6 separate regions of the Homo sapiens genome follow, and all the other regions are linked to region 2. Evidence: promoter capture Hi-C in 16 types of primary human blood cells and fetal thymus (Javierre and others, 2016). All regions are on one chromosome and are shown on one strand. Each heading gives the region's core, a stretch centred on a gene start or on the middle of the fragment in contact. The rest is flanking DNA. Distances are from core to core; before and after follow the strand shown.

Evidence for each region. Contacts are between HindIII fragments. The CHiCAGO score rates a contact against its expected background, and 5 or more counts as called.
Region 1: a fragment that was not itself captured here is called in contact with the fragment with the promoter of WDR7 in region 2 in 1 of 17 cell types (activated CD4 T cells); the score reaches 8.0 in activated CD4 T cells.
Region 3: a fragment that was not itself captured here is called in contact with the fragment with the promoter of WDR7 in region 2 in 1 of 17 cell types (activated CD4 T cells); the score reaches 5.2 in activated CD4 T cells.
Region 4: the fragment with the promoter of MBD2 here is called in contact with the fragment with the promoter of WDR7 in region 2 in 10 of 17 cell types (naive CD4 T cells, total B cells, activated CD4 T cells and 7 more); the score reaches 13.9 in naive CD4 T cells.
Region 5: a contact is called between a fragment that was not itself captured here and the fragment with the promoter of WDR7 in region 2, in 2 of 17 cell types (fetal thymus and non-activated CD4 T cells). The highest score is 9.7, in fetal thymus.
Region 6: a fragment that was not itself captured here is called in contact with the fragment with the promoter of WDR7 in region 2 in 1 of 17 cell types (M0 macrophages); the score reaches 5.5 in M0 macrophages.

What each region holds. Positions count from the first base shown.
Region 1 is chr18:59,351,297-59,354,732 of GRCh38, reverse strand. It overlaps LMAN1 (lectin, mannose binding 1), which reads left to right. Exons shown (of 13, transcript NM_005570.4): 4 at 153-214; 5 at 1,432-1,531. Among named protein-coding and RNA genes, the nearest start is that of LMAN1, 6.2 kb to the left of the region's middle. The HindIII fragment of the contact is 836 bases long and covers 1,451-2,286 here.
Region 2 is chr18:56,649,649-56,652,916 of GRCh38, reverse strand. WDR7 (WD repeat domain 7) reads right to left here and starts at 1,558. Exons shown (of 28, transcript NM_015285.3): 1 at 1,341-1,558. RefSeq lists an enhancer at 1,438-1,827. The HindIII fragment of the contact is 1,105 bases long and covers 1,326-2,430 here.
Region 3 is chr18:59,143,637-59,147,007 of GRCh38, reverse strand. All of the region lies in intron 1 of SEC11C (SEC11 homolog C, signal peptidase complex subunit), which reads right to left. Among named protein-coding and RNA genes, the nearest start is that of SEC11C, 5.4 kb to the right of the region's middle. RefSeq lists an enhancer at 2,416-2,465. The HindIII fragment of the contact is 1,438 bases long and covers 702-2,139 here.
Region 4 is chr18:54,223,336-54,226,689 of GRCh38, reverse strand. MBD2 (methyl-CpG binding domain protein 2) reads left to right here and starts at 2,021. Exons shown (of 7, transcript NM_003927.5): 1 at 2,021-2,672. The coding sequence starts at 2,131. RefSeq lists enhancers at 97-637, 638-1,180 and a silencer at 1,931-2,320. The HindIII fragment of the contact is 9,949 bases long and covers 1,655-3,354 here.
Region 5 is chr18:54,358,850-54,362,183 of GRCh38, reverse strand. C18orf54 (chromosome 18 open reading frame 54) reads right to left here. Exons shown (of 9, transcript NM_001288980.2): 2 at 3,314-3,334; 3 at 1,329-1,657; 4 at 1-541. The coding sequence starts at 1,611. Among named protein-coding and RNA genes, the nearest start is that of C18orf54, 2.6 kb to the right of the region's middle. RefSeq lists an enhancer at 3,263-3,334. The HindIII fragment of the contact is 1,222 bases long and covers 1,122-2,343 here.
Region 6 is chr18:54,260,387-54,263,762 of GRCh38, reverse strand. It overlaps LOC124904307 (a long non-coding RNA gene), which reads left to right. Exons shown (of 2, transcript XR_007066379.1): 2 at 2,602-3,376. Among named protein-coding and RNA genes, the nearest start is that of POLI, 7.4 kb to the left of the region's middle. RefSeq lists an enhancer at 1,551-1,610. The HindIII fragment of the contact is 7,662 bases long and covers 1-3,376 here.

The sequences.
Region 1 (3,436 bases), core at 619-3,118, 2.7 Mb before region 2:
GAACTTTAGTAATTCCTTGAGTGCCAAGGCCAGGTTATTTTAAAATTTTGAGTCCTAGAATCTTAGATATGTAAGTCACTTCATAGTACATCAAGAATGATGTAGAATGCTTTGATTAAAGACATTTTTTAAAATGTTTTCCTTTTTTTTAGAAAAATAATCCTGCTATAGTAATTATAGGCAACAATGGACAAATCCATTATGACCATCAAAAGTAAGTGTGTGTTTTTTACATTACTCCTGATTTCAGCTTCTTTTTGGAATCCTTATGAAATACATTGTTTCAAATCTGAACACCTTCCAAATGAAAAAAATACTGTTCTTTTTCTTGAGACATATTTTGTAACTTGGTAGAAAGGTTTTATTTTATTTGGTTCTGTTCTGAAGTTCTATCTGTGGACCATCTCAGATTCAACCATGGTATGTGTTTTTAATTTAACCTCAAATTATTTAATAATATACTTTTGAAAGTTTATAGACTGTTCCTGGCTCTCAGTGATGCCACTAATCATGCATTTTTATCTTCATTAAAAGGGATCTTTAAAAAATAAAGTTGAGCCTTGATTATTAAGGCTGATGATTAAGCAATTTATGCCATCTTATTTAACTTCAATATTGTGTTATTTAAAGACTCAGTGGTTTGCAGAGATTCTAAGTGTTCAGTACAGTCAACCCTCTGTATTTGTGGGTTCCGTATCTGTGGATTCAACCAACTGCAGATCAAAAATAATACAAATTATTTTGTGTACGCAACAAGAATACAAATTTTAAAATACATTGTAACAACTATTTACAAAGCATTTACATCATATTAGGTGTGATAAGTAATCTAGAGATGATTTAAAGTATACAAGAGGATATGTACACGTTATATGTAAATACTGTGCCATTTTATATAAGGGACTTCAGCATCTGAGGATTTTGGTATCCACAGGGGTCCTGGAACCAATGTCCTATGGATGTTGAAGGATGACTGTATATTTATAATGTATATAAATTAGGTATGTACATTTTTTATTTTCACGTGTTTGTTGTGGAGGAAATAGCTTTTAACCAGTGAACTGTAAGAAAGGTGACTTATCCATGTGCCTGTTTACTGTTTTTCTGCCTTAGTGAGTTTCAGCCCTGGTAGTTCATCATAACTCCCTATGGAGCTATTTAAAATGGAGGTGCCTAGGCCACCTCCTTTTGATTCTGCTTCAGTTGATTTGGAGTGGAATCTACATGTTAAAAGCCCAGAGAGTGATTCATGTTCTGCCCTAGGGTAGAGATTCACTGCCTTAGTCTCATGTAGTCTCGTGTAGTCTTTTGAGTAAATAACATAAAGTATCTCAAGACTTTTTCATAACTTGATATTATTTTAGTCTTCCTGAATTTTTAAATATTGAAAAGCTGAGTGTCTTGTCTGTTTTCCTCCCCCTTACACTATAGTGACGGGGCTAGTCAAGCTTTGGCAAGTTGCCAGAGGGACTTCCGCAACAAACCCTATCCTGTCCGAGCAAAGATTACCTATTACCAGAACACACTGACAGTAAGTAACATCTATTTAGAGAGAATCAAATAAACAATGTTACAGTATCACTTTTCATTTTGAATTTTTGATAGAAATTAAATGCACTTAAATTTGGATATGCTTACATACTCTTCATTGTTACTCTAAGAGAACGGAGGTGGCTTCACAGCTCAGTGTAAGTGGTCATCTGTTGTAAACCCCTGATGGTATGTTTCCATTTAGTCAGTAAATGTTTAAGCCCCCTACTGTATAGCACATGTGAGAGATATATATATCTATAGATAGATAGATAGATAGGTAGATAGATAGATAGACGGATAATCTCCAAGCCTTCAGGATACAAATATGAGTAAGACAGATGGACTTTCTCCCCAGAGAGCTTATAGCCTAACAGAGGACACACAAATGTATCATTCCTATGCTGTGTGATAAATGCTGCGTTGCAGACACTATCAAGCGGTCCTGTGGTTAGAATCCTGTAACTGCCAGGTGGAGGTGGGGAAGGGCAGGAACATTTTCTCAGAGTTGAGCTGTGCCCTACAGGGAGATCAGGAAGTTCCTGGGAGTTGGGGGAAGAGGGTGTGTGTGTGTGCGAGTGAGTGGGTGTACTCCAAGCACAGAAAGCAGGCATAGGCCCTTGAGAGAGCTTGAAATATTTTGGAAAGGCATGTAGTTTGGTGTGGCTGGGAGATAGAAGAGATCAGTGAGCAGTGAGGTTGAAAGGGCAGTAACAGGCCTTGCACAGCTTCCTGTAGTTTAACCCATAAGAAGCTTTTAAAAATGTTTAAAGGGTTTTAAGCAGGAAGTGAAATTATCAGATTTGCAATTTAGAAAGATGACTTAGGTCCCAGTATTCTTAGTACCAGTTTTCTTGGGGTTAGGGGTGAACACAGTTGTTGAGTCAAGGAGAGTTCCTGAATATAGCCAATTGGACAGCTAATTGGTACTATTTACTAGCAAAGAAGCAGCACATTTGTTTGTGTTTTATCTGTTTGGGGGAGGAATGGGAAATCAGAGGGTTGGTAATGAGTTTAGTTGTAGGTAAATTGAGGTTAGCATAACATATAGGTGGAGATATCTAACTGGCAGTTATGATAACTAAGATCACTATGCATTGTAAACTTTGCTTTTTAAAGATGCCATTAATACCTGGTTATATAATACTTAAAAGTAAAAAAAATAGTGTATGAATTTTTCTTTCACCTAAATCATGAGCTAGACTTACACTCCTGGGTCTAAATCTCTGAGAAAGTTAGTTCTGTGGAAAACTGTATTGGCTTAGTCTTAATTCCAAGCTAATTTAGAGATCTTAGAATAGAGCAAGTGTCCAATGTATTATAATTAGCTTGGGTTTGAATTCCACTATAATTATTCACCCTGTACAGTTTCATTAGAGTCATCAGTAAGTCTTGCTTACCTGCATGTAGCAAAGCCCAGACATCAAGCATGGTGGGTGCAGACTGTCCGTGTGACCCAACACCGTGAGGCTGTGAGCCCTGGCAGCACTCCAAAACAATAGCCTTGCAAAACGTACTCCCCAGAAAGGGTTCCACAATTGATGAGATTGGTCACTACTCTGCATATTAGCACATTAAAGATTTCTTTATGAAGGATCCTTTATAAAGAAAGGATAAATAAACCTTTATTAGACCTCACATTTCCCAGACTGACTTAACTATGGAATTTTTTTTCACCTAATGTCTATGAGTGATCATGGAGCTAGTGTTTTCAGGTACACGTTTTGAAGAGACTGGCTGGACACGTGACTGCTACTTATTGGTTTTCACCTCTCTGTACATCTCAGTCTGGTAATAATTCCTTTTCTTTCTACTTGTTAAAGTCATACTTAGCTTTGAGCACACAAATTCAGATCCCTTTTCTATCAGATTTCCTAAACAGCTCATAATGATCTGTCTCTCCTAA
Region 2 (3,268 bases), core at 309-2,808:
GGTCACTACCCCTAAAATTTAAGTTAAATTCTTACAGGGATATTCAAACCAAGCCAAGCCCAGTCCCTTTGATTCACCCAGTCACCGAGATCTTTTAAAATTTAGTTACAGGTGGCAATAAGAAAAAATAAAGGGCATACTCTCATTTTTCTCTTAAAGTATTTCTCTGAAACACTCTTAAAATAAGGATTGGCAGTAAAATAAATGAATTTTCTACCATAATCCCTAATTGACATTAATAATAAAGCATTAATTATATTTATAGTGGTTCGTTTTCCCAATTTATAATAACTAATATGTATTGTTCTGGATGGAACTAGACAGTTTTTTATTCTTTGTAATAATGAGGGCATTTCAACACATTATGTTCACTTTTAAGCTGACCTTCATACAGCCACGAGTTTGTTTATAAAGCAAGAAGCAGAGTCAAACTAAAATTTTTGTTTTACAAAATGTCAAAAACTCAGTTAATTTCTTTCATACAACAGGCAATTCCTGCAACCTTGCCCATAAAATCCTAAGACATAAACACCTGAAAGAGTCAGTTTGCCTTTTTTTGTCTCATGGCAAATATTACAGTGAGAGGAAGCTATAGCTGCCACTGACCGAACCCTAAATTCAGCAGCATCAACAATATCAATGCAGCCTGTCATGCGACGGTAGGTTCCCTAGTTTCAGACTATCTAACCCAGCAAATTCTGCCTCAAAAAGTGACATACTAAGTGGGTAAAAAACATAAAACAGCAATTTTTGAATCAAAGTTAGGGTAGTGCTGACTTCAAACATAGCTTCAGAACGCTGGGACCCATCACTAAGTGAATGGGAGTGACTGGCATCCGCTCAGACAAGTACTAGGGCAAAGGGATAAGAACTGGCAGATGGCATCTCAAAAATGAAATTCTAACAGTGGTGTCAGTACCTTGGGCATGGGCAAAAATAGTACCAACAGGAAAGGAAAGACTATATGAACCCCAAAAGCAAGCACATCGCCCAAAATTGCTGTCAATAACCACCAACGATCATCACCAATCACCTGATCCCGTTTAGATTGCACCTGGGAACCAGGCAGTCCCACCTCAAGACCAAAGCAACTGTCACAAGTAGCAAATATCACTCACCAGGCAAGGGAGCCACAAAGACCCCCGGCTGGCCCCCACGCTCTTGGTAACGGCGCCTACTTTTGGGCCCGACCTGCAGGCTTGCAGCCGCAGCGATCTGACAGCTAGCACCGCCCCCGGCTAGAGCGGGTTTGTGACCTTTGACCCCTGACCCCTGACCTCCACGGTGCAGGAACATCCCGCCCTGTGGTTTCCCATGGAGAAGCTTGAAAGCCCCCTTACCTGTCACAGCTTCATCTCATGCCGCGATGTAGCCTATCAGACCGCCGGTGGGCGCCCCAGCCAAGGAGGACAAGGATAGGGCGGAACTACGGAGGATGCGGGGTGCGTAGATCCTGCTGGGATAATCCGTGGGGCGGCAAGCGCTATACAGCCGCCGTCTCCCCAGTGATACTGCAAGGTGCCGGTGCCGCCGCCGCCGCCACTGCAGTAAATCAGCTGACACCAGCCCCAACTGCCGTGACTTTCGCTGCAACTGTCGCAAAAATGAGGGGGCGGGAAAGACTCACCATTTCCCTACTTGCAAGGCCTAAGCCGGCGCCGAGAGAGCCAGCCGCGTTACGATGGAGACCGAAAGTGGAGAAAAGGCCAGCTGTGGGCAAGGAGTGCACGGCCGCCATCTTGGTTGTGGGAAGTCTCGTCTAGGCTGTCCTCTCTCCAGTTGGGAGGACCAAGATGGAGCGAAGGATGAAGTAGCAAGTGCACGTCTTTCTTGGGAGCAGGATGTTGCGCAAGTTTACACTTCTGACCCCATCACACTGCTTCCCACTGAGATGCAAGAGGTAGGGAATTCCCTAAACACTGGAAAGTATGTTGGATGCTGGAAAGCTAAAAAGAATGACAAATGTCCCCCAAGATAGATAAGCTATAGTATAGTGCAGGATGAGAAATGCCAAATAAGGAGCAAGGAAGAAAAGAGATGAATTATTTCTAGGTTGGGGTAAGGAAGGATAATCACATTAGGTCATATGGAAGTCTAGAAAAATTGGTCAGATTTGGAATAATAATTGGGAAAGGAAAACAACTTTGTCACCAGCATTGAAATGTAAAACATGAATATATGCAATAAATAGAAAGTTAAATTTGGAAGAAATACAAGGGACGTGAAGTAGGTGAAGTGGGAAAATGTGGTATCAGGGCTTAGCTGTTTCTGCTCCGTGAGCGGCTCCTTTAACAGGCAGTCTATGCCCTGGAGCTCTCTTGTGGGTTGATAGAGACTTCATCACATTCGGCCTAGACCAGGTAATAAAAAAGTAACATGGAAAAATAGAATAATGTAGATAACAAGAGGCTTTTAGTGGCCATATAAGCTTTTTGGTCTTTATTCCAAAGACAATGAAAAGTAATTGAAGACTTTTGACTAATAAATAGTGTAGCACTTTTCCTAACCACATGGTATTCAGGTTTTTAAAATTGCTTTACAACAAATTATCACAGTCTTAGTGTCTTAGTGGCTTAAAGCAACACATATGTATTGCCTCACATTCCATGGGCAAGGAGGTCAGGAACAGGTTAGCTGAGTCCTGTGCTCATGCTCTCACAAGGCTACAAGTGGATGTCAGCCAAACTGCAATTCTCATCTGGAGGCTCAACTAGGGAAGAATCTGATTCCAAACTCCTGTCAGCTCATTCAGTTCCTTGTGGCTGTCTGACTAGGGGCCCTGGCTTCTTACTGGCTCTGAACTGGAAGTGGCCATCAGGTCCTAGCAGCCACCCACAGTTCCTTACCACATGGGCCTTACTAAAGGCTCTCTCGCAACATGGCAGCATACTCCTTCAAAGCTAGCAAGGAGAATCTCTCTACTGAGCACAAGAAAGGAGTCACACAGATATAGATACAGCCATGGATATGGACATGGACATAGATATGGAAATGGATGTAGATGATAACCTAAATTAGGGAGTGACAGCCATCACCTTTGCCATATATTATTGGTTAAAGTAAGTCACGGGTTTTATCTGTACTCAAGGAGAAAGGATTATACAAGAGTGTGACTTATCGGGGTCACTTAAGATGGGCCAGCCACAAATATTAATTTGGCAGCAATGTGCCATGTAAATCAGGTGGGAAATACAGGGAAGCAAGGAGACAAGTGAGATGTCGTCATTGTTGTTGTAACCAAAAATGTATGGTTATCACTGCAAAAGAA
Region 3 (3,371 bases), core at 171-2,670, 2.5 Mb before region 2:
ACATTCCCAGGTGACACGAAAGCTGCTGGAGTGGGAATCACAGCTGAGAACCACTGCTCTATACCATTGGTTCTCAACCTTGGCTGCACCTCAGAATCATCGGGGAAGCCCTGGAAAGTCCATCCCAGACCAGCTGGATCACTGGGAGGGGTGGGGTGATTCTGAGGTGCAGTGAAAGTTGAATCACGGCTCTATACCTCCTCCTCCCATCAGCTAAAGACTCTCCCATCGCAAACCCTTCCTCCACCTCACATCCTCCTCCAGCTTTCACACTCTCTTCTCCTTCACAGCTCTTCTCAAAACAGTGTCTACCCCAAGTTGCTCCCCTTCTTCACCATCTATATTCAGTCCTCAACCTACATAGTCAGTCACATGCTCACTAAATCCAAAGGATAACTGTCGGCCCTCACCTTACCTGACCTTCCAGCAGCTCTCAACACACATGATCATTTCTTCGAACCCTCAGCCCCTGCCTTCCAGGATGGCATGCCATCCACTTCTCACCACTTTCTTGTCTTCCTGCCAGTTGCTCCTCCTCTACCTGAATCTCCTCCTCTACCTGAATGCTGGCATTGGTCCCATCAGGCTAACTACTCCCAATTCAGAGACTTCCAACTGCCTACCTGATGTTTCCACTTAGATGTCTTTAAAGATACCCCATCCTCAACATGTCAAAATTAAACTTACCTTCTCCAAAAGCTTTCAGTATTAGGGATCCTTCTCTCAGTAAATGACATTATTATCACCCTGCTGTTTGGAGCCACCCCCTACCCATTCATTCTATACATTCTGGCTTTCCAAACACGTCTGGAGTTTGTCCAGGTCTCTCTATTCCCACTGCTGCCACTCTCATCATATCACCAACGGGGCCCATCAGGCTGCTGTGAAGCCTCATGACAGGTCTCCTAATGCCCATGCACACCTCTTCTGATCCATTCTCTGTGATACACTCTGGGCGGTCATGCGCCACTTCATGACAGACACATTCTGAAAAATGCGTTGTTAGGTGATTTTATTGTTGTTTGAACATCATAGAGTGTACTTATACAAACCCAGATGGTGTCGCTTACTATACCCCTAAGCTATACGATGTAGCCTATTGCTCCTAGGCTAGAAACCTGTGCAGCATGCTACTGTACTGAATACTGCAGGCGACTGTAACACACTGGTAAGTATTTATGTAACTAAACATAGAAAAGGCACAGTAAAAATATGGTATAATTTTTTGGGACCACCATCATGTATGCAGTCCACCATTGATGGAAACATCATTATATGGTGCTTGACTGTACTGGTTTTCAAATGCACATCTGGTCACCTGGTTGTCTATGCCCTGCCTAAAGCCCTTTGATTGCATCCCACTACTCTGAGGATGAAGACTAAACTACAATATGGCCTCTAAGGCCCTGTCTGATATAACCCTGCAGCCCCGCTTCAGCCTGTGAAGCTCGCCTCACCCCAGCTGCACTGGTGGTATCTGTCCATGCTTCCACCTCACATGCTTCTTTCCACCCCAGGGCCTTTACCCAGAAGGCTCCCTCCCTGAACCCCTTAGTTTACCAAACACTCACCTTTACATCCACCTTTAAATGTCAGTGTCCAACAGAACCCTGCCCTGACTGGCTAGACCAGAAATCAGCAAATTTTTGTGTAAAGGGCTAGACAGTAAATATTTTATGTTTACGGGTCACATAGTCTCATTGAAACTACTCAGCCCTGCCAATGTAGCGGGAAAGCAGCCATAGACAATATGTAAAAGAAAGAGCATGGCCGTGTGCCAATAAAACTTTACAAAAACAGGTGGTGCAATGGGGTTTGCCAATCTCCACTCTGGCCAGCCTAGGTCTTCCTATTATATATTCTCACTGCATCCTGTATTTCTTTGTATCGTTCATCAGCATCATAATTAAGCATATAATTACCTAATGTGTCTTTTGCATTAGACCTTACATTCCACAAAAGTAGGGATCATTTCAGCCTTGCTCATAGCTGTATCCTCAAGATTCAACATGGGTTTGGCAAAAGTTAAGTATTCAATTTGTTGAATAAATAGTGATAAAATAAACATCTTTAATGGTGAGTGCAAACAAATCAGCAATAAGAAAAACACTAAAATTCCAACAGAAAAAGGTAAAAGCTTAAAACTATAATTTTCCAAAGGAAAATACAAGTAGTAAATAAACATAAAAAATGTTCAAACCAATAATCCTGCCTCTACCCTCCTTGCAACCCCTTCCTTTTTTTTTGTTTCTAGCAACTTTTTTTTTTTTTTTTTTTTTTTAAGATACAAGGTTTCAGTCTGTGGCCTAGGCTAGAGTGCAGTGGTGCAACCATAGCTCACCACAGCCTCAAACTCCTGGGCTCAATGGATCCTCCCACCTCAGCCTCCCAAGTGGCTGGACTACAGGCATGTGCTGGCATGCCTGGGTAGTTCTAAATTTTTTTCTTTGGTAGAAATGGGGTCTTTTTATGTTGCTCAGGCTGGTCTTGAACATACTAGCCTCAAGCAATCCTCCCAAAGTGCTGGGACTATAGGCGTAAGCCACCACACCTAGCCTTTGCCTAAGAAATTTAAAGTGTCTGGTTTTTTTATTGTTGTTGTTAATACTAATACTTAGTGCTAGCAAGAATACACTGTGATGGGGATACAAATTGATAAACCATTCTGAAAGCTATTTGGCATTAGTATTAAGAGGTTACTCTTGGCCCATAATCCTACTTCTAGGAATTCAGTATAAACTAAAGGCAGGTTGAGAATTATGGCCCGAAGACATTTATTACAGTCTTAATTCTAATAATGTGGAAAAGGAAATAAATGAGCAACAATATGGAAATAACTGAGTAGAAAGTGGGGCCAGGTGCAGTGTGGCTCATGCCTGTAATCCCAGCACTTTGAGAGGCCGAGGTGGGCGGATAACCTGAGCTCAGGAGTTCAAGACCAGCCTGGCCAACATGGTGAAACCCGATCTCTACTAAAGATGCAAAAATTAGCCAGGCATGGTGGTGCATGTGCCTGTAATCCCAGCTACTCGGGAGGCTGAGGCACAAGAATCGCTTGAACCCGGGAGGCGGAGGTTGCAATGAGCCGAGATTGCACCACTGCACTCCAGCCTGGGTGACAGAGCAAGACTCCATCTCAAAAAAAAAAAAAAGAAAATGGCAGATTACTCCACTATTTAAAACAATGCATAAAGAACTTAATGGGAGTGGAGGAGAAAGCGGGTTGGGTTGGGGGAGGAAAATAAAAAGGAACTTTAATGACATGACCAAACACAGTATGTTGAGTGAAAAATGTAAGCTGCAGTAGGATCTCACCAAACGATAAAACAAATACAAAGAGATGCCCCAAGACGCTAAGAGAGGCTATTTTA
Region 4 (3,354 bases), core at 772-3,271, 2.4 Mb after region 2:
TTCTACTGAGATTTTTGCTCATGTTTACCCTTTACTTTCAATTATGTGTGAAAATCAGAGTACTCTCTTATGTCATACAAACTTTAATATCATTTTTTTCCTTTATTCCTTCAGTGGAACCTTAAGTATTGGCATTCCTCAAGATTCAGTTCTTGATCCTCTTTCCTTTTATTATTAACCACGCAAGCCCTTCCTTGGAGAGCTTACTTACTTCCAGGGCCTCCTTCAACTGTCACTTTCACAAATGACTTTTTTTTTTTGAGACGGAGTCTCGCTCGGTTGCCAGGCTGGAGTGCAGTAGCGGGATCTCGACTCACTGCAATCTCCGCCTCCCGTGTTCAAGCGATTCTCTTGCCTCAGCCTCCCGAGTAGCTGGGATTACAGGCGCACGCCAGCACGCCCAGCTAATTTTTGTATTTTAATAGAGATGGGGTTTGACCATGTTGGCCAGAATGGTCTCTATCTCTAGACCTCGTGATCCGCCGGCCTCGGCCTCCCAAAGTGCTGGGATTACAGAAGTAAGCCACCGCGCCCGGCCACAAATGACTTCTTTTTTTTTTTTTGAGACAGAGTCTCGCTCTGTCTGCCAGGCTGGAGTGCAGTGGCGTGATCCAGTTCACTGCAAGCTCCGCCTCCCGGGTTCACGCCATTCTCCTGCCTCAGCCTCCGGAGCAGCTGGGACTACGGGCGCCCGCCACCACGCCCAGCCAATTTTCTGCATTTTTAGTAGAGACGGAGTTTCATCGTGTTAGCCAGGCTGGTCTTGAACTCCTGACCTCAGGTGATCTGCCCGCCTCTGCCTCCCAAAGTGTTGGGATTACAGGCGTGAGCCACCGCGCCCGGCCCACAGATGACTTCTAAATGAATGTCTCCAGTACTGATCTCCTCAGAACTCATTTCTTGATGATTTTTTACATTCACATTTCTAAATTTCTTGTAGGAAACCACAAATTAGTGTCTTTCAACTAAAGGACATTAAAAGAAGACTAAGGTCAGGTTTAGAGACAGACAAGTTTGTGTGTATGAGTTAATGTTTGCATATACTGCAAAGATAAACCAAATTAATTTTAGATTTTTGTTGCTTTATATTAATCAACTTTTTCTATACGTTAAACTTGGTCCTCAGTTTTTAGGGCATATGAGTATAGAAACCCAAGATAGCTTATCATCAGGCTGATAACATGTGCTTTACATTTTTCAATCTTCCAAATATTTCATAATATATTATCTTGAATATCAATAGCACACTTCTATAAGTGTTCGACAACTTATAGAAAATATGCATTTCTAAAATTCAAGTTGGCAGACCGAAAAGAATACCACACAGTTTCCTAAAGGCTTGTGACAGTAAGTTAGGCTGGACTTTCAACATAATGGAATATTTACCAAATAAAAGGCCACTGATTTTTGTATTAGACAAAGACATCTGGAAATTTCTAGATGGATTTAGGGATTCTGGTCATTCTAAGGAGAATCTAGAGGTAAGCCCCATCTGACTCATGGGCATATTCCAAGTTATCATTTCCTTTCCTACATCCTTACAAGGTTCCAGGAGAATCTGTCAATGGCTCTGAAGCCAGGCTCAGGAGGGAACTGGTATTCAGCGAATGGGACACTTTGCTTCATTCCTTCATTATAAGCTCCCCTGCAAGCTTTGTGCAGAGGGGCGGGAAAAGGGGCTATCACCCCCTTAAATGAATAGCCGAGTTGGTATGTAATATAAGATCTATTTTGCTTGTTATTCATTAATTGGGAAGCAAACATAGGTAAAATCACATAATGGTGGAGGTTACCCCGTTTGAAACAAACTAACCACAGTCACTATGACACCCCCAGCTGGTGGCTAGCCCGACCAACCTTCCCAGCTCCGCGCGCCCAGTGGGGGCCGGAAAAGCGCGGGAGGGGGCGTGGCCCCGAGAAGGCGGAGACAAGATGGCCGCCCATAGCGCTTGGAGGACCTAAGAGGCGGTGGCCGGGGCCACGCCCCGGGCAGGAGGGCCGCTCTGTGCGCGCCCGCTCTATGATGCTTGCGCGCGTCCCCCGCGCGCCGCGCTGCGGGCGGGGCGGGTCTCCGGGATTCCAAGGGCTCGGTTACGGAAGAAGCGCAGCGCCGGCTGGGGAGGGGGCTGGATGCGCGCGCACCCGGGGGGAGGCCGCTGCTGCCCGGAGCAGGAGGAGGGGGAGAGTGCGGCGGGCGGCAGCGGCGCTGGCGGCGACTCCGCCATAGAGCAGGGGGGCCAGGGCAGCGCGCTCGCCCCGTCCCCGGTGAGCGGCGTGCGCAGGGAAGGCGCTCGGGGCGGCGGCCGTGGCCGGGGGCGGTGGAAGCAGGCGGGCCGGGGCGGCGGCGTCTGTGGCCGTGGCCGGGGCCGGGGCCGTGGCCGGGGACGGGGACGGGGCCGGGGCCGGGGCCGCGGCCGTCCCCCGAGTGGCGGCAGCGGCCTTGGCGGCGACGGCGGCGGCTGCGGCGGCGGCGGCAGCGGTGGCGGCGGCGCCCCCCGGCGGGAGCCGGTCCCTTTCCCGTCGGGGAGCGCGGGGCCGGGGCCCAGGGGACCCCGGGCCACGGAGAGCGGGAAGAGGATGGATTGCCCGGCCCTCCCCCCCGGATGGAAGAAGGAGGAAGTGATCCGAAAATCTGGGCTAAGTGCTGGCAAGAGCGATGTCTACTACTTCAGGTACCTCCCTGGGGGCGGGGAGGGGGTGGCGGGGTCAGGCCGGGGTCAGGGGTCAAGAGCGGGCCTGGGCAGAGGATGAGCGCTGGGGCCCGGGGGGCATGTGGCAGGGACAGGCTGGTTTGGTGGTGGAAGGTGGCGGAACCCTTGGGTGAGAGTTGACCCCAGTGCGGTGGGAGGCAGTGTCAAAAGGTGAGGGCCCGCAGGAGGGCATCTTATGTGGAAGGCGTCGGGGAAGATGGTTTGCGAAGAAAGGGTTAGCCTGGCAGGGATGGTTAGTCCACTGAAGGGTTAAAAGGAGGTGTAATTCATCGAAACTATAAAACCCAGTCACTGTTGGCTCCTGTCCCAGCCTGTCCCAGATTCATCATCACAAGTGTTAAGCATGCACATGTGGAAGAATGAGCTATCTACAGTAACAAGGTTTCATTTACTTCATCCAAGAAAGTTTTGTATAAAGCAGCTATTTGGAATGCCTGAAGTTTTTTTGGAACTTCTTGGTATTGCAGAATATACTCTTTTGAAACTGACACACTGTACTAAGTTTTTAGACTCCTAGACCAAAATTTGCTCCCCAGGGAACATTTGTCAATGTCTGGAGACATTTTCGGTTCTCACACCTGGGGAGGGTGTGATACTGGCATCTAGTGGGTAGAGGCCAGAGATGCTGCTACATATTCGATAA
Region 5 (3,334 bases), core at 483-2,982, 2.3 Mb after region 2:
TTTGCATCAGGTAGCAAGTCTTGATTGTGCAGCCAGACTGGGTATTTGAAATCAGGTATACTAGTTATCCCTGAAACATTAAGGTCAGATTTCTGGCTAGTGAGCCATCTTGGGTAATTCTTTTCAAGACTGTGTTCTGAACTGTCCTTGAAAGACGATTTCTTGGGAAAAGACAAAGATGATTCAGAAATGCAATTATTAGTCCTATTCATAAGTTTTGGGTTTTTCAGCCTACCACATTGCTTTCCATTTATATTTGAGCGTATAACAGGAGTAACAAAGTTATCCTTGCCCATGGAAGTGTAGGGTCCTTGAAAATGTGGATTCTTCTCAATGTCCAATGAACCCAGTCTTCCACGGCATTTCTTGTTTTTCTTGCTCGTTCGGTGACTCGGTCCAACATAAGTATAAGAAAATGATCCATCTGCTGGGAGTCTTAATAGATCATCAGTTGTTAGGCTCATGGAGTCTATGTCATTAACGGTGTGTCTTCTACAGGATATGAAGTTTGAGTGCTTTTTGTGATCAAGGTTTTCAAAAGCTGAAAAACGAAGAACAGTTTTGTTTATTACATACAAATATTTTATAATATCCAACAGTAAATGAGAATTAAGAATTTAAGAGGCATTTTGCTGCTTTCCCCTTATCCTCACTAAAGCTTTGATTAAAAGCATAAAAAGGTGTAGGTGGATAAAACAGGATGTGCTTTTTTTCTCACGATTCTTCGTTCTGTGTTAATTTCTACGTTTCTCTCCAACCTCCTGAATTTTCCTGTGTTCTCTAATTTACTGTTCCTTCAACTTTCATCATCTAGACATATCTGATACACTAATACAATCACAGTAACATTGGTCACTCAATATTGGTTGCAGCATAGAAAAAAATATGCTATTAAACTAGGTGGAAAAATAACTTGTTTTCTCACCTACAAACCCTTCAATGGCATGGATTATACATAGAGAACAGCTGTTCTCATTCTTTGCTTCCGGAATATATTGACCACATCCCTCCAAGAACTGAATACAAACTTTTTCTATTCTAGGGTCATTCTGCAAGTGTTAAGTAAAGTAGTAATTGACTTATCAACAACTGCATTTTCCAAACTTGTCTTCAAGGAAGCTTTATTATGGACAAACTCTTAACATCTTGTGAATATTACTGTTCCACAGAGAATTATATAATCATTTTACAAAAACACCCAGATCTCAATATTATGTTATTTTTACTCCAAAGTAACAAAAATAATGTCAAACTTTACAATACTACAGTACATCTCCCAAATGCTTCAAAACATCTGAACACAAAGAAAACAAAGAATAAAAGCATACCATTGTTTGGTTTGTAAATATAGTTGCAGAACTGTGACATATTAGTAAAATCCTCATCAATGTTAATTTTTCCAGTGCTTGCACCAGGATATATTTGGCCTAGATCAAAATCATCAATATAAGCCTGTAGAGCTTGAGAAGCAGATCTGTACAGCTTATCTTTATAGTGAAACGAGCCATCAGAATTAGAGGAATTACTACCACTCAGGGTGCAGCTTGCCAGCAGGGCAGATACTGAAGATTCCTGAGAACAAAGTCTATGTTTTGTCTTTGATTTCGCCATGGCTTCTTCAAAGTGGATTGTTTCTATTCATTTCCCTTAAAAACAACTGTAATACAAAAACGAAATGTTAAGATGCCAATTAAAAGTGACCATACACAAACAAAATTACTAAATATGTAAACCTTTTGTAATTTTCTTTAAATAATAAAATCCATTATCTATAACAGACACTCCTTGTTAGGAATTGTAGATTTTTGTTATATTTATTATTGTGAATTCCTTCATCAATGATTTAGAAAACATTTTTTGAGTACCTACTATGTGGCTGGAAGTATGTATACAAAAATTATCTGAGAATATACATGGAAAATACCAAGGAGAGAGTACTCACTTCTTAAAAAGTCCTAAAAACTACTTATGAACCTCTTTTCTCTTATGGTGATATATTCTATGACATCACAATACCTAATATTCCCCTATACATCATATTTTTCAAATCATAAGCCTACTACCATGTGCTGCAGATAATAGCGCTCAATAAATTTTTTAAAGCCATCAAATGAAGTATTCAAAACAAGAACAATGGAGAATATTCACTTTCAATGTTATAAATGCTAGTACATTTACAACATTTAACTGTAAATAAACTGCAGGTCTTATTCTGGAATGAGTTAGCAATATACACTTTTCCTAAAATAGTTAATCATTTCCTGACCTTCGTTTTTGGTACCACCCTCCCTATTTTCAATTCTTATGTTAAATGGATTCAGCTCACCTCTTTCAAAGGAAGCTTAAATAATGTGAAAATCAACTCAATGTGTTCTTCTGTTTTTCCATTATTAAAATTGAGAGAATCCCTGTCTACCTCAGTACAGTAACAGGATGTATATTTGAAAACCTAAGAAATCACAGAACGAACCGGCACTAATTCAGTCCATGATGACATTCTTTTTAAAATTAAATGAATGGATTTCCTATACTAAAAAAGTATTAATGTTGAGGACTTAACATATGCTATGATGTTATAATGTTTAATTTTTGGCTATAATTTTAGAAATATTTGTTATAACAACTTTTAATGTAATCTTAGTAACTATTAAATTTGGCTTTAAAACATCGAAAGTTTTCTAATTAAATAAGAGACAAAGTAAAACATCATCCTACCACAGCGTTAGAGCATGCAATGGCCATTACAAGAGATCTGACCGTGGTCAGTGCAAATGGCAGAACATAAGGTAACAGTTGTTTCGTCTCATTGATTTATCTGAATTCTGTAATACTGGTATATCTCTGACGAATGGCTAAACTAAGCCAGCTTTACCTTTTTCGTATCCCTTTTATTTAAAGAAGTTTAAACTCACTCAAGTAAATTTGTTTGGATAAGCCTGACCAAATGTTTTCTGTCTTTGAATGCCGAACAGGCTACTGATTTTATTTTACAAAACCTTGAAAGAGAAAGCTGTTGTATTGGTCTCCGTAAGTGGGTGATAACATTTACTAGTTATTTCAACTCACAGGACAGACAAAAAGAAAATGCACAATTTAAGTTTCATTATGAAAAGTTTTCCAACTTTTCCCCAAAAGAGTATACAAAAGTAGAATCGTTCAATAAACCCCTATGTACTCATCATCCTGCTTCCAACAATCGCTGAACAGACCCCAATTGTAGCTAAAGTGGGTAGGGACCCACCCACTTCTCCCCACTTCAGCCACAGGATTATTTTGAACCCCACATATCTCATGCAAATCCCATATATCTTACCATTTCCTCCGTACAGGCTTC
Region 6 (3,376 bases), core at 391-2,890, 2.4 Mb after region 2:
TACCTCTTTTTCTGATTGCAAAAGTAATACATTATTATTATAGAGAATTTGAAAAACATAGGACTTAAGAAAATGATGGAAATAATCTGTAATAATCCATAATCTTGATGCTCAGAAAACCATGCTTTAATCATTTTTTCACAAAGCATGACAAAAAGAAAGTTGCGGTTTTTTTTTTTTTTTTTTCCCGAGACAGAGTCTCACTCTGTCACGCAGGCTGGAGTGCAGTGGCACGATCTTGGCTCACTGCAACCTCCACCTCCCAGGTTTAAGCAATTCTCCTGCCTCAGCCTCCCAAGTAGCTGGGATTACAGGTGTGCACCACCATGCCCCACTAATTTTCTGTATTTTCCATGAATAAATTTGTGTATTTATTTACCAAACCACGAAAACCACTGTAAGATGCATTGCCTAAATAAATGACACAGAAAACGTTCTATCCATGTATTTGTTTTTAATGTTAATTCGAAGAACATGAATAAAGACAGTCTCAACTTCATCTTGGAAATGCTAACAAATTCAACTTAATAATCTCCATTTTTCTGGTTTGAGATTAATATAAACTCTCTATAAAGAAAAGTAATGCTTATATTTATAGGACTTTTTCTTACTGTTGCTTCAAAGACTTCATTGAAGTACTTATTGATCCTAAAATTACTGCTTCTGTGTCTACTTAAAAATTTTTTTTCTTCATATCCATTGTTTAAGAAATCTTACTAAAACAAAAAGGTATAAACCATAAAGTTAAAATCCTTCCTAATCCCCACTCCACCTTGAGGTGACCATTGCTAACAAAATTTGATACATTTAGGCTTTTATTTATAATATTCTTAGTATAAGGAAGACACAATGAAAAATATTCTAATTCACATGAGTGGGATCACACTATGTATACTATTTGCATTAGACTTTTTTACCTAGTATATCTTGAACACCATTTCCTTTCAGTGCACAAAAATGTACTGCATTCTTTTTAATGGCTACATTGTTTCACCAATTCCATAATCATGGACACTTATTTCTGATTTTTTGCTGTTACCAGTAATGCTGCAGTGAACATTCTTGTTCATATACCTTTGTGCCCTTCTTCATGGGTTTGATCCCACCCTTCCCTAAGACACATCCAATCTCCTAAAATTCTAGAATAATGTTATATTTTCCAAATTCTCCATCATAATCATGGATTACTTTTTCAATTAAAAAAATGAGGTACTGGCTGGATGCAGTGGCTCACACCTGTAATCCTACCATTTGGGGAGGCCAAGAAAGGAGGATTGCTTGAGTGCAGGAGTTCAAGGCCAGCCTGGGCAACATAACAAAATCCCATCTCTACAAAACTTTAAAAATTAGCCAAGCATGATGGTGTGTGCCTGTAGTCCCAGCTCCTGAGGAGTCTGAGGTGGGAGGATTGCTTGAGCCTAGGAGGTCCAGACTACAGTGAGCTATGATCACGCCACTGCACTCCAAACTAGGCAACAGAGGGACATTGTTTTCCAAAAACAAACAAAAAATGAGGTACTTAAAAAATTACATTAAAGTTAGATGTCTATAAATTTAACACAGTGTGCCTGATCTATGTTAATCTGCTTGCACTTTCTGTATTACATCAAGTAGTTCCCTTTCTCTCAATGACTGAAACTTGCAGACTTTATTTACAAGCACATTATGACACATGAGGCCTGTCGGGTCTACCTCCAAATGTTCTCTCAAATCCCTCTACTTCTCTGTGTCTGTACTGACACTACCCCCACCCCCGCGCCCCAGCCCACATACATACAGTTATCTCTGGTTTGGCCTGCTGTACTGGGCTCCTAGTATCTGCTTTTTACAATCTGTGAGCCTTAGGACAGCCAGAATAATATTTTAAAAATGTAATATCTAATTTCCTTTTCCTGCCAAAAATCCTTCAAAGGCTTCCTACAATACCTAAAGTAAAAATCAAACCCTTTACTCGCCATGGTCCTCAAGGCCCTGATGGAGCAGGCTCCATCTCTTCTCTACTTCTCATAGCAAGTGACCATCTTTTCCTACACTTGGGCTACTCTAGCCCCTTTTTTTTTCCTTTTTTTCTTTTTTTTTTTTTTTGAGATGGAGTCTTGCTCTGTAGCCCAGCTAGAGTGCAGTGGCACGATCTTGGTTCACTGAAACCCATGCCACCTGGGTTCATGTGATTCTCCTACCTCAGCCTCCCAAAGAGCTGGGATTACAGGCGTGCACCACTATGCTTGGCTAATTTTTGTATTTTTAGTACAGATGGTGTTTCACCATGTTGGCCAGGCTGGTCTCGAACTCCTGACATCAGGTGATCTGCCTGCCTCAGCCTCCCAAAGTGCTAGGATTACAGGCGTCAGCCACCACGCCCAGCCTCTAGCCCCTTTTCTATTCTGGCGACACATATTAGTTGTGGGTTGGATACCCAGAGGCCCAGGAGAGCCAGTGGTATAGTTCTAGTCTGAACCAGAAGGCCTGAGAACCAGGAAAGCTGATGATGTAAGTTCCAGCCCAAGCCTAAAACATCAGGTGAAGACTGATGTCCCAGCTCAAAGACAGTCAGATAGAGGGTGCAAATTCTCCCTAACTCAACCTTTTTGTTCTATTCAGGTTTTCAATGGATTGGACGACGCCCATCCACCGTGGGGAGGGAAAACTGTTCTACTCCATCTGCTGATTCAAATTTTAAGCTCATCTACAAACACTTCAAAGATACTCCCAGAATAATGTTTAACCAAATATCTGGGTCCACCATGACCTAGTCAAGTTGATACATGAATTAACCATCACAGGACAATTTTCTGCCTCCAAATCATTCTGAAGTTTGGAACGTTTTTCACAGAACTGGTTTGTTCTCTTTTTTGAGTTCTCTGTTCAAATGTCAACACCTCAGACTGACCTTTCCAAACTGCACTGACTCAGAAGGCCTCCCCCAGAGTTACCACATTCTCTCATATCTTACTGAGTTTCGTTTATAACACTTATCCCAATATGTAATTATCTTATTTACATCTTACTTGTTTTTAATGTCTCTCTCTCCTATTAGAACATATTAGGGTGGAAAACGTGTATGCCTTGTACTTTAATAGAATCCACCAAAAATATACTTGCGGTAAATAAATATTATTTATTTCTTTTTTTTTTTTTTTTCAGATGGAGTCTCATTCTGTCGCCCACGCTGGAGTGCAGTGGTGTAATCTCTGCTCACTGCAACCTCCACGTCCTGGGTTCAAGCAATTCTCCTGCCTCAGCCTCCCCAGTAGCTGGGATTACAGGCACATAACACCATGCCTGGATAGTTTTTTGTATTTTTTTAGTAGAGACCGGGTTTCACCATGCTGGCCAGGCAGGTCTCGAACTCCTGACCTTGTGATCCGCCTGCCTC